Linked DNA regions of Homo sapiens: region 2 is linked to region 1. The links are contacts of gene promoters, found by promoter capture Hi-C in blood cells and fetal thymus (Javierre and others, 2016). All regions are on one chromosome and are shown on one strand. The core of a region is centred on a gene start or on the middle of the fragment in contact, and the rest is flanking DNA. Distances in the headings are between cores, read along the strand shown.

The links. The method cuts DNA at HindIII sites, captures the fragments that hold promoters and counts their contacts. A CHiCAGO score of 5 or more calls a contact.
Region 2: a contact is called between a fragment that was not itself captured here and the fragment with the promoter of AKR1C3 in region 1, in 5 of 17 cell types (endothelial precursors, M2 macrophages, M0 macrophages and 2 more). The highest score is 8.0, in endothelial precursors.

Annotation. Positions count from the first base shown.
Region 1 is chr10:5,090,075-5,095,802 of GRCh38, reverse strand. It overlaps AKR1C3 (aldo-keto reductase family 1 member C3), which reads right to left and starts at 1,389. Exons shown (of 9, transcript NM_003739.6): 1 at 1,275-1,389. The coding sequence starts at 1,358. It overlaps LOC124900291 (U8 small nucleolar RNA), which reads left to right and starts at 2,260; the gene lies at 2,260-2,395. RefSeq lists an enhancer at 1,252-1,546 and a silencer at 5,612-5,728. The HindIII fragment of the contact is 2,243 bases long and covers 241-2,483 here.
Region 2 is chr10:5,415,425-5,421,406 of GRCh38, reverse strand. The region is part of intron 1 of NET1 (neuroepithelial cell transforming 1); the gene reads right to left. Among named protein-coding and RNA genes, the nearest start is that of NET1, 5.9 kb to the right of the region's middle. RefSeq lists an enhancer at 24-193. The HindIII fragment of the contact is 2,266 bases long and covers 1,336-3,601 here.

The DNA.
Region 1 (5,728 bases), core at 140-2,639:
AGATGTATACTCTGAGGATATCGATTTGTACATTAAAAATTCACTGAAATCTGTTAAGAATTTACTAAGGTACAGTTCTGCCATAAAAAATAAGGCTATCTCTTTCAGGAAAGACAGAATTCCAGTGAAATTTAAAATTACTGACTTATTGACCAAATTTGGATAAAGATTTGAAAGGTATTTTTTAATGACAAAAATATAAATAAACTGTTTTCATTTTTACATGTATTTAAAGAAGCTTTCTTGTTTCGTTGAAATTACAAGGAACTAGATAACGGTCTCCCCGCCATCTCCTGAGAACAGTCTTTTTTTTTTTTTTTAAATCTTTTTTGAGAGCAGTCTTTAAGTGTGCCAACACTCAAAGGTTTACCAAGGCTGGAGCTTCAGTTGTGTCGTTATTTTCATTTCCTGCCCATGCCAATTTATATTAAAAATTAAACCACTTTTGTCACTGGTCTAGAAAATGTATCCTTGTAGATCATCACAACTTATCGATAAAGTGAGAGACTCAAATTTCAATAATTAGTTCCTATTCACACACTTAGTAGCCTGAGGACAGTCTTGGAATACAAGTTCTATCTAGAAAATGAGGTCTCCATTTTGTTCATTTTTGTGTCAGAAGACCACTCCTACCACTTTGATACAAATATGATGCATACAAAAAAGGACTAAGAATTTAGACTTTCCTTTGTTAGGTTCTAGATTTTACTTAAAATGAGGTGGTATTTTTTTCTTTCAGGAAGTTCTTTTTAAAAGTGAAATAGTACAGTGGAAACTCTAGTCCAGGTCCGGTAATACTGGGTGGCACTCACTGCCGCCCATCAGAACAGTGATACTCTGCCGACAGTTTTGTGCACACCATATCCAGTAATTTTTGCTATAAGTATTTCTCTGGATCGTATGTTCTTGGAAGATGGAAAGATTTCTTCAGTTGTAGAAACAGAGAAATCACTCCTATTGCAATTAATCTCCACCAGAGGGAGATGACCAACAGTGTTCTTCAATACTGAGTTTTACATATTCTGCCAAGCTGGGAACTAGACATGAACAGAAGAAAGAAACAGTGCACAAACGAAAAATAAGCAGTACGTGACCATAGGAATGGACCTCAATGCAGAACAAGGATTGCCTACTTTTTTCTCCTAGCCTAGGAAACCTAGACCAGTGAGTCATCCAGAGTAAGGTAGGAACACGAACCTTACAACCCAATACGGGTTTCACTTCTACTAGGTTTATTCTTTTGAAATCCGAAAACTAAAAGGAATTATTCTTACCTCTGGAGGTGCATAGGTGCCAAATCCCAATACAGGCATGAAGTGGCCATCATTTAGCTTTACACACTGGTGTTTGGAATCCATTCCCTGTCACTTGTCTGACTAGCAAATGTTTGCTGCTGCTTCTCCTCAGAGATTACAAAAACAATGGGCAGGAAACCCCTCCCCCCACCCCTGCAAACTGACTGATGGTTAACCAATGGCATGTAGGAGGAGGTACATAGGCAGTCTTATATGGTCTGTGGAGAAAATTGCATTCAGTTCATTTGTTTCTTATCAAAGAGAATTCCTAAGTAAATTATTATAATATATGGTTATAATAAACTCATTAATTTCTATCTAAAGTATTATTTTCTATTCTAAATCTCTATATTAAATTATTCAAAAGGATTTGTAGAACAAATAGCAACCATATGTTAGACTATAAAAACCTCCAGCTACAAATATCTTTTTTCGTTTCTGCCGTGATAATGCCCCTTCTTTATACTGCATCATTTGAAATAATTAACCATCTTACGTCTTTCTCTCACATACACATAATTTAAAGGAATGACTAATGAGAATTTTTCAAATAGTTGGTCCTCAATAAAAAATTAAAGTTAAAACTGTAAAAATATTTGCCTTTTTACATTTTCAATCAGAAAATTTATTTTGATTTTTCTTTCTTTGCGTTGTAAGAGAAATATTCATTTCTGAAGAAGATGCAGTCCTGATAAAGCTGTAATCCTGATGAGGGTGCAAATAAAAAGAAATTCTGGTGTAGTTTTTATTGGAGTGTTAATTATTAACAGTTTTTGGAGTTTGGACATCATTTAATATATGCAAGCAGTGCCTTAATAGTATTTGTTCTTCAACCAGGTTTATTACAGACTATCAAGAAGTAACTAGCCAAAAAACTGATAACCATTTTATATAATCTGTCATCTTGTTAAACATTATTTGTAAGGAAAAACTGGAAATTAATTACATATAAATGGATGAATAATTCTCATGTGGGATAGTTTTCACTTGTTCCTTCCTTTGGAGGGCAGATTAGAACATGATGAATGTAGTTTGCACAATACATTATCAACATCTTGGAGTTGTCAGAACTTGCAATGCCCTGATTTCGTTCTATTTACTTTTCCTCAAATAATAACCAAAAAGTAAGTTGAGAAATAAGTTAATTATTATACATTGATACAATATAATATAAAATCATTGAAAGCTTTTACAGAGTGATTTCAGCAATATGGTGGATCAAAAGGCCCCTACTTGTCTCATGGACGCGTCAAGAAGTGATCTGAAATTGACTAAAATAAACTTATTTATTTATGGGGGTGCTGAGTAGAAATGTAGTATGATGCCAAGGGCAAGAGATTAGGGGAAGAGACGTGCAATAGTCCGTCTAACCCATTGAGGGGAAGCTGGGGTGTGAATTTTTGAAATAGTAAGCTATTCAAAAGCCAGTAGGTATTTGGGGGAACTACTAATGGGCACACACAGTCCAGGCAGATACAAGTTCAGAAAATTGCTGACAAGGCCTTAGGGTTTTATGTTGGGCTTATGCTAAGACTAAGAACATACCAAGCATATTAGTTGATAATCGTCATGACACAGAACAAATCTATATAGAGTTAGAAAAATGTCTATATTTTGAAATGCTCAAATAAAATAATAAGGTATATAAAGAAACAGGAAAACACAGTCCCTTATAAGAAAGAAAACGAGTTGACAGAAATTATTTTTGAAGAACCATGAGCACTGAAATTAGTAGAGAAAGGTTTTAAAACAATTATCTTAAATATGCTAAAATTTCCAATTAAAAATATGGAAATAGAACTACAGGAAATTGGGAAAAGCATATACGGAAAAATGAGTGTATCAACAATGATGTAGAAATTATACAAAATAAACCAAACAAATTTTGGAGCTGAACGATATAACTGAAGTGAAAATCTCACTAGAGGATTTCAACAGCAATTTGAGCAGAATGAAGATATAATCTACATGTTTAGGGATAAGATATTTTACATCCTTGAGTCTAAGGCAAAAAAAAAAAAAAAGAGTAAAGAGATGTGAACAGACCCTAAAGGGCTTGTAGGACACCATCAAGCCAAGTAGTATACACAGCATTGGATTCTGAGAAGGAGAAGCAGGAGCCTATGGGGGTGGAGAGATTATGTGGTGAAAACAATCATCAAAAAGTTCTCAAATTGGCAACAGACATTAATCTAAATATGTGAGTAACTTAAAGAACTGGAGTTCAGATAAAGAGACCAAGGCCCACATACATTAAAATCAAACTCTAAAAGCCAACAACAAATAGACTATCTTAAAAGCAGCAGGAGAAACATAACTCTGTATTATGTACAGAACAATAAATTCTGTTCAAGATGATCAACAGATTTTTGATTAGACAATTTGAAGGATGTAATAGGTAATACATTTAATGTGGTAAAAATAAAACTGCCAACCAACAAATCTATATTTGGCAAAAATTTTTTTTTAATTAGAAAGTTATTAATACAATGTGAGATAAAAGCTGCAAGAGTCCATTGCCATTAGATCTGCTTTGCAAGAAATGGTAAAGGGACTAATTCAGCTTAAAATAAAAGCATTTTAGACAGTAACCTGAAACCATATAGAAGTATGAAGCCCTTTACTAAAGGTATACATATGGCAAAATGTGAAAATACGTGTTTTTGAAAGTTTGGTTTTATTCTACACTTCTTCAACGTTTAAAATACAAATGTGTACAAGTAAGTATAAATCTATGTTAACATGTACACAATGTATAAATTTGTAATTCATGAAATCAATAATGTGAAGTGGAAACGAAGCTGTGGAAGAAGTTTTGTATAGGATTGCAGTTAAATTGGCATTGCTTTCAAAGTAGATTTTTATAACTATAGGGTGCTGTATATAATCCCAAGAGTAACTACAAAGAAAATAACTACAGAATAAATAAAAGAGCAATTGAGAAAGGAATACAAATATTATTAAAAATCATACACAAAAAACATTGTTAATTAAGGATATGAGGATATGAAGGACAAAAAGCTAAAGACATAAATAAAAAATGACAAAGTAATTGCAGTCATGTATTACCTAACATTAGAGATATGTTCTGAAAAATACATGTTTAGGCCTGTGGCCACATTGACATTAGCCCATTGAACCAGACTTTGGAATTCTAGTCTCCAGAACTTCGAGAAAATTAATTTGTGGTGTTTCAAGCCATAACGTTTGTGGTAATTTGTTACAGCAGGAACAGAAAACTAATTTGGACGTAATTTCAGCAATTCTCATTCTCTCTTTCCTGCATCATCAGTTTTTTTTCTCTCTGCTAAGTTCTCCCTAAGAGCACACAGGCATGCTGTTTTTACTGTCATCACAAAAATAACCCTCATTTTACTCCGTTTTCTTCTTCGGTGGTTGCTCAATCGTCTGGTCCCCTTTACAGGCCATTATTTGAACATGTTCTACACTCTGTATCTAATTACTCTCATCCTACACTTTATTGAATGCACACTATTCTGACTCTTGCCTCCATCATGCTATCAAAACATTCTTGACTTTGTAAAGGTCAATAGTCAATGCCAATGGTCAATGTTGAGACTCCATCTTACTTGTCCTATTAATAGCATTTGACTCTTTTCTTAAAACAATTTCTTCATCTGACTTCTAGGACAGAACAGTCTCACTTTGTCTTGTAATTTCATCACCACTCATCAGTCTTCTTTCCTCATACATGCCATTCCATTACCATGTAGGGGCCTGGGAAATGTGAAATTTGAAATTGGAAAATTGCCCAACACAGTATAACAATGCTGGCATGTGATCACTTCCCTGGGGTCCTGAGACTGGGCTGACCCAACCAGATGACACCAATATAGCTGATACCAACACAGAAGTGCTGAAAGGTGGAGCCTCTCCTTCTATCTCCATGAAGAAGCAGCATTACCACCTCACACTACATGAGAGCCACAAAGCTGTCTATATTGAACTGGGTGAAGAGGTTCTACCCCAATTATCACTTCCTTAGAGAGCTATGGGACAGTAGTTTTTTATTTTATGGCTCTCAGCTACACTGTGGCCTGGAGATAGACAGCAGTGTGCATCTGAACTGAGAGTCACAAGGCCCAAGACAGGGATGTATTAGGGAAACAGATTGTGTTACTGACTACCCAGGTTGTGGATCAGTGCAGTTTCCTAACCCCCACAGAGAACTTCATGCTTTACAACAGAAGTTTCTCTGGTAACCTCTCTTTGGGCTGGTGCCTGTGCTCATCACTGGGGTATTTGCAGGTAATTAAGCTACTCCAGCTCTACCCAGATATATCTCTGTCACACACTGAATAGGAAGCTCAGGGCACTGATCATTCCACGGTCCATCCCATCACTTGAAACAACAGAAAGCCTCACACAGTAAACAAAGATCGAGTATATACCCATCTGCTTTGGCACAGCTG
Region 2 (5,982 bases), core at 1,219-3,718, 320 kb before region 1:
CTATTATTTTTCTACCAATGGACAGCATTATTTCAAATCTGCAAAAAAGGAAAATATAAAATCCTTAAAAGGATCAGTATGTATTTATATTTCTGCCATATGGGTGATATGTAAAGTTCTATGGCTTTCCCTAAGGCCCCGAAAGACAGAAATAAAATTATTTAAACATTACTTGTGTCCAATTTTCAGGACCTTAGACATAGGTACTATGAAGTGAGATTTAGAGACTAAGTAACTTGCCCAAGGTCCTTAAGAGCCAGAATTTGAACCTAGGAAGTCTGACTGCTTTTAATGCCTAAAATCTTTAAACGTTACTCTTTGTCTATGGGTTCTAGTCTAAAAGAATGTTAAAAGAATATACATTCTCAAAGGAGAAGACAGAAAATAATTAGGTAAATCAAAGCTGAGGCCAGAACAGACTTGGTATCAAAAAAACTAGGCCAGAAAAGCAGTCCTCGTTCTGAGCTCTCAATCATGTAGTATAACCTAGGGTTCTTTAGAAAGACCCTTGCTGGCCGGGCACAGTGACTCATACTTGTAATCCCAGCACTTTGGGAGGTCAAGGTGGGCGGTTCACGAGGTCAGGAGATCAAAACCATCCTGGCCAACATGGTGAAACCCCGTCTCTACTAAAAATACAAAAATTAGCTGGGCGTGGTGGCGCTTGCCTGTAATCCCAGTTACTCGGGAGGCTGAGGAAGGAGGATCACTTGAACCAGGGAGTCGGAGGCTACAGTGAGCCGAGATCGCGCCACTGCACTCCAGCCTGGCGACAGAGCAAGACTCCATCTCAAAAATAAATAAAAAAATAAAATAAAAAAGAAAGACCTTTGCCTACTACCCAGAACTGGGAGGTGAGGAGAAAGACGTTAAGAGGCCTGTCATATTGTAGGGAATATCTACATAGAAAACATAACTGCTGCCCCAGAGAAACTTGCACAGGTGTATAGAGGAGATGTATCAACAAACAACCTAAAATCCCAAATACATCTTATACAACATACCAAATATATTCCACCTGAGTTATAAAAATTGTATATTATAATATCTCACTGTACAGAATATCATAATGTATTTAGCTTCCTCCTCCTGTTTTTTCTAACCTTTCTACTACACAAATGTGCTAGGATATACTTTCTTGTACATACATCCATGTATACTTGCCCATTACTTTAAGATAAATTTCTGTGGGTAGAACTGCTTGGTTTAAATATTTGCATTAAAATTTTGTTTTATTTGCTATATTTCCCTTCAAATACACATAATGGGAATATCAGAAAGAGAGGAAAAGAGAAAAGAGCAGAAAAAAACTTCAGAGAAACAATGGCTGAAGCTTCTCCAAATTTATTGAAAAACAACCACCTACACATTCAGAAAAAGCTCAATAAACTTCAAGTAAGATAACACAAAGATATCCACAGACAGACACATCATAGTAAAAATGGCAAAAGTTAAAGATAAGAAAATCTTAAAAGCAGCAAGAGAAAAAAACACTTGTTATTTACAAGGAACCCCAAAAAGATTCTGACTTCTTAACAGAAACAATGGAAGACAGAAGCAGTGTGATAACACATTCAAAGTGCTCAAAGAAAAAGAAAATTTCAGCAAAGAATCCTATACTATCAAAATTATCTTTCGAGAATGAAGGAGAAACAAAGACATTCCCATAAAAACAACAACAACAACAACAACAACAACAAAACAAAGAAAAAAAACAAACAGAGAATTTGTTGGTAGCGGACTTGCCTTACAAGAAATACCATAAGAATTTCTGGCTGAAAGCCAGTGACCACAGACGGTAATCTGAGTTCACATACAAAACCCAAAAAAGCCTAGTAAAAGCAGTGTCAATGAAAAAAATCAGTAAAGAAATTCAAATGCTATAAATTAGAAAATTCTCACTTAATGCAAAAGAAAGCAATAAAGGAGGAATAGAGAAACAAAAGACATATATAACACGACAAAATGGCAGACATAAATCCAACTATATCAATAAATAACGTTAAATGTGATTGGAGTAAACAACCCAATCAAAAGAAATGGACAGCCAGACAGGATCAAAACCAACCAACCAACCAACCAACCAACCAACCAACCAACCAAGATCCAACTATATGCTGTCCACAGGAGACACACTTTAGTTTCACAGATATAAACAGCTTGAAAATAAAGGGATAAACACGTATCATGCAAACAGCAAGCCACAAGAAAGCTAGAGTAGCTATATTAACATCAAACAAAATGGCCTTTCAAAGAAAAAAATGTTACCAAAGAGGGATATTTTATAGTGATAAACAGATTGATCCATCAGGAAGATACAATTACAAACATATGTGCATATAAAAACAGCACAATCTCAATAAATGTAAAAGGATAGAAATAATACATAATACAAAGTGTATTTTCCAGCTGCAATGTAATGAAATTAGAAAAAATTTGTGAAAGTCACAATTATGTGGAAATTAAACAATTCATTCCTAAATAACTAATGGCTCAAAGAAGTCAAAAAGAAATCAGAATTTGAGATTAATGATAGTGAAGACACAATATATCAAAATTTATGAGATGCAGCTAAAGCAATGCTCAGAGGGAAATTTATAGCTGTATCCCTATATTAAGAAAAAGATCTCAAATCAGTAACTTAATCTATAATCATGACACTGGAAACAAAAAGGGCCAACTAAACCTAAAGCATGCAGACTAATCTGAGCAGATTACTCAGATTACTAAGCAGGAAGAAGGAAACAATAAGGATTAAAGTGAAAATAAAACAAAGAATAGAAGAACAAAGAAAATTAATGAAGCTAAAATCACATTCTTTGGAAAGATCAAGATTGACAAGACTGTAGCTAGATTGACCATCATCATAAAAAGAAAGAAGACACAAATTACAAGAATCAGAAATAAAAGAGGGGACATTACTATTGACATTACATGAAAAGGATTATAAAGAAATACTATGAACAAGGAAGGGTACACCAACAAATTAGATAACTTTGATGAAACAAATTCCTAAAGAGATACAACCTACTGAAACTGACTTAATAAGAAACAAACTATCAGAAGACACCTACAACAAGAGATGAGATTGAATTAATAATAATAATAAACTATCCACAGAGAAAAGTCTAGGCCTAGGTGGCTTTACACTGAATTCTACCAAACATTGAAAGAATACCAATTCTTCACAAACTCTTTCAAAAAAAACAAAACAGTAGGGAATACTTCTTAACTGATTTTATGAGGCCAGTATTATCCCAATACCAAAACCAGACAAGCATAGTACAAGATAATAAAACTACAGATCAATATCTTATGAATATATATACAAAAATATTCAACAAAATATTAACAAAATGGATCCAACAATATATTTAAAAAAGCTATACACAATGACCAAGCAGGACTTATACCAGGAAGGCAAAGTTGGTTTAACATCCCAAAAAATCAATTAATGTAACACATCAGTAATAACAACAACCACATGATCATTTCAATAGACAAAAGAAAAAAAACCCTAAAACCTTTCATGATAAAAACCACTCAAAAACTAGTAACAGAATGGAACTTCCTCAACCTGATAAAGGACATCTACAAAGCTTACAACTAACATCATACTTAATGGTGAAAGATTGTATGCTTTCCCCTTAAGATCAGAAACAAGACAAGAATTTCCCGTCTCTCCACTTCTGTTCAGCGTTGTACAGGAGGCCCTACCCAGGGCAATTAGGAAAGAGAAAAAAGTAAAGGGCATCCAGAGATTGGAAAAAGAAGTAAAACTATTTTTATTTGCTGATGACATGACCCTGTACACAGAAAGTCCTAAAGAAACCACTAAAAAACTATTAGAACTAATGAGCTCAGCAAGGTAGCAGGATCCAAGATCGATATACAAAAATCAATTGTATGTATTCCTATACAATTGAAATTATTAAACTGAAAATAAAGTGATACAAAGCGGGGCAGGGAAGTGCTGCGTAGAGGAGAGCGTGGTCCCTTGCTAGGGCTCCATCCCCAGGCCTGGGCCCACGGACCTAAGTGAGGATAGGCATTTCTGTTTTCCTACCCAAATGTTGCATTTCCCAAGACCACCCTGGCTCACCACACCCCCATCCTGTGCCTATAAAAGCACGCCCCCACCTGTGCCTATAAAAACCCCCCGAGACCCTAGCAGGCAGACACACAGGTGGCTGGATGTCAAGAGGAACACATCGACGTGGGAGTACACCAGCACGCTGGCAGGCCAGCTGGCAGGCCATCGATTCGCAGAATGACGCAGAGCTTGGCCAGGGAGGTTGGAGGAGAATCGGGCAACCTGACACCAGGGCAAAACCATTTCCCTTCTGGCTCCCCCATCTGCTGAGAGCTACTTCCACTCTATAAAAGCTTGCAATCATTATCCAAGCCAACGTGTCATCTGATTGTTCCAGTACATCAAGGCAAGAACCCTGGGATACAGAAGGCCCCCTGTCCTTGAAATAAGGCAGGGGTCTAACTGAGCTGATGAATACAAGCCGCCTACGGATGGCTAAACTAAGAGTACCCTGTAACACAAGCCCACTGAGGCTTCAGCTGTAAACATTCACCCATAGACATGGCTATGGGGTTGGAGCCCCACAGCCTGCCTATCTATATGTTCCCCTAGAGGTTTGAACAGCAGGGCACCGAAGAAGCGAGCACACCTCCAGTGCACGCCCTGCGAGGGGGAAAAGGGAACTTTTCCCATTTCAAAAGAAATGAATCCATTTACAACTGCATCAAAAAGAACAAAATACTTAGGAATAAATTTAGCAAAACATGCAGAACTATACTCTGAAAACTACAAAACACTGTTGAAAATAATTAAAGATCTAAATAATTGGAAAAACATCCCTTGTCCATGGATCAGACTACTTAACTCTCTGTAGAGGGCAATACTCCTGAAAATGATCTACAAGATTTAATGCAATCTCTATCAGAATCCCTGTGGACTCCTTTGTAAAAATCGATTAAGCTGATTCTAAAATTCACATAGAATTGCAGGAGACCCAGGATAGCCACAACAATCTTGGGAAAAAAAGAACAAAGTAGGAGGACTCACATATCCCAATTTCAAAACTTACTATACAAAGCAACGGTAATCAAAACACCATGGTAATGGCATAGGGCTATTACATATAGATCAAGAGAATAAAAGTCAAAGTCTAAAAATAAACTCTCATGCTTAAGGTCAACTGATTTTTGACAAGGGTGCTAAGACTACTCAGTGGGAGAAAGAACAGTCTTCAAAAAATGGTGCTGGGGTACCTGGATAGACACATGAAAAAGAATTAAGTTGGACCGTCATCTCACATTATATACAAAAACTAACTCAAAATGGATTAAAGACCCAAATATAAAAGCTAAAATGATAAAATTCTCAGAAGAAAGCACTGGGGAAAGGATTCATAACAATGGATTTAGCAGTGATTTCTTGGATGTGACACCAAAACACAGGCAACAAAAGCAAAAATAGACAAGTAGGACTACAAACTAAAACATTTTTGTGCTTCGAAGCACATCATGAAAGTGAAAAGACAAACCACAGAATAAGAGAAAATATTTGCAAATAATCTATCTGATAAGGGACTTGTATCCAGAATAAAGAACTCTTAACAACTCAATAAAAAAGAAATTTAAAAATGAACAGGGCCAGGTGCGGTGGCTCACGCCTGTAATCCCAGCACTTTGGGAGGCCGAGGCAGGCAAATCACAAGGTCAGGAGTTCAAGACCAGCCTAGCCAACATGGTGAAACCCTGTCTTTACTAAAAATACAAAAAATTAGCCACACGTGGTGACACATGCCTGTAGTTCCAGCTACTTGGTAGGCTGAGGCAGGAGAATCACTTGAACCCGGGAGGCGGAGGTTGCAGTGAGCCGAGATCATGCCACTGTACTCCAGCCCCGGTGACAGACTGAGACTCCGTCTCAAAAGAAAAAAAAAAAAGAGCAAAGGATGGCCC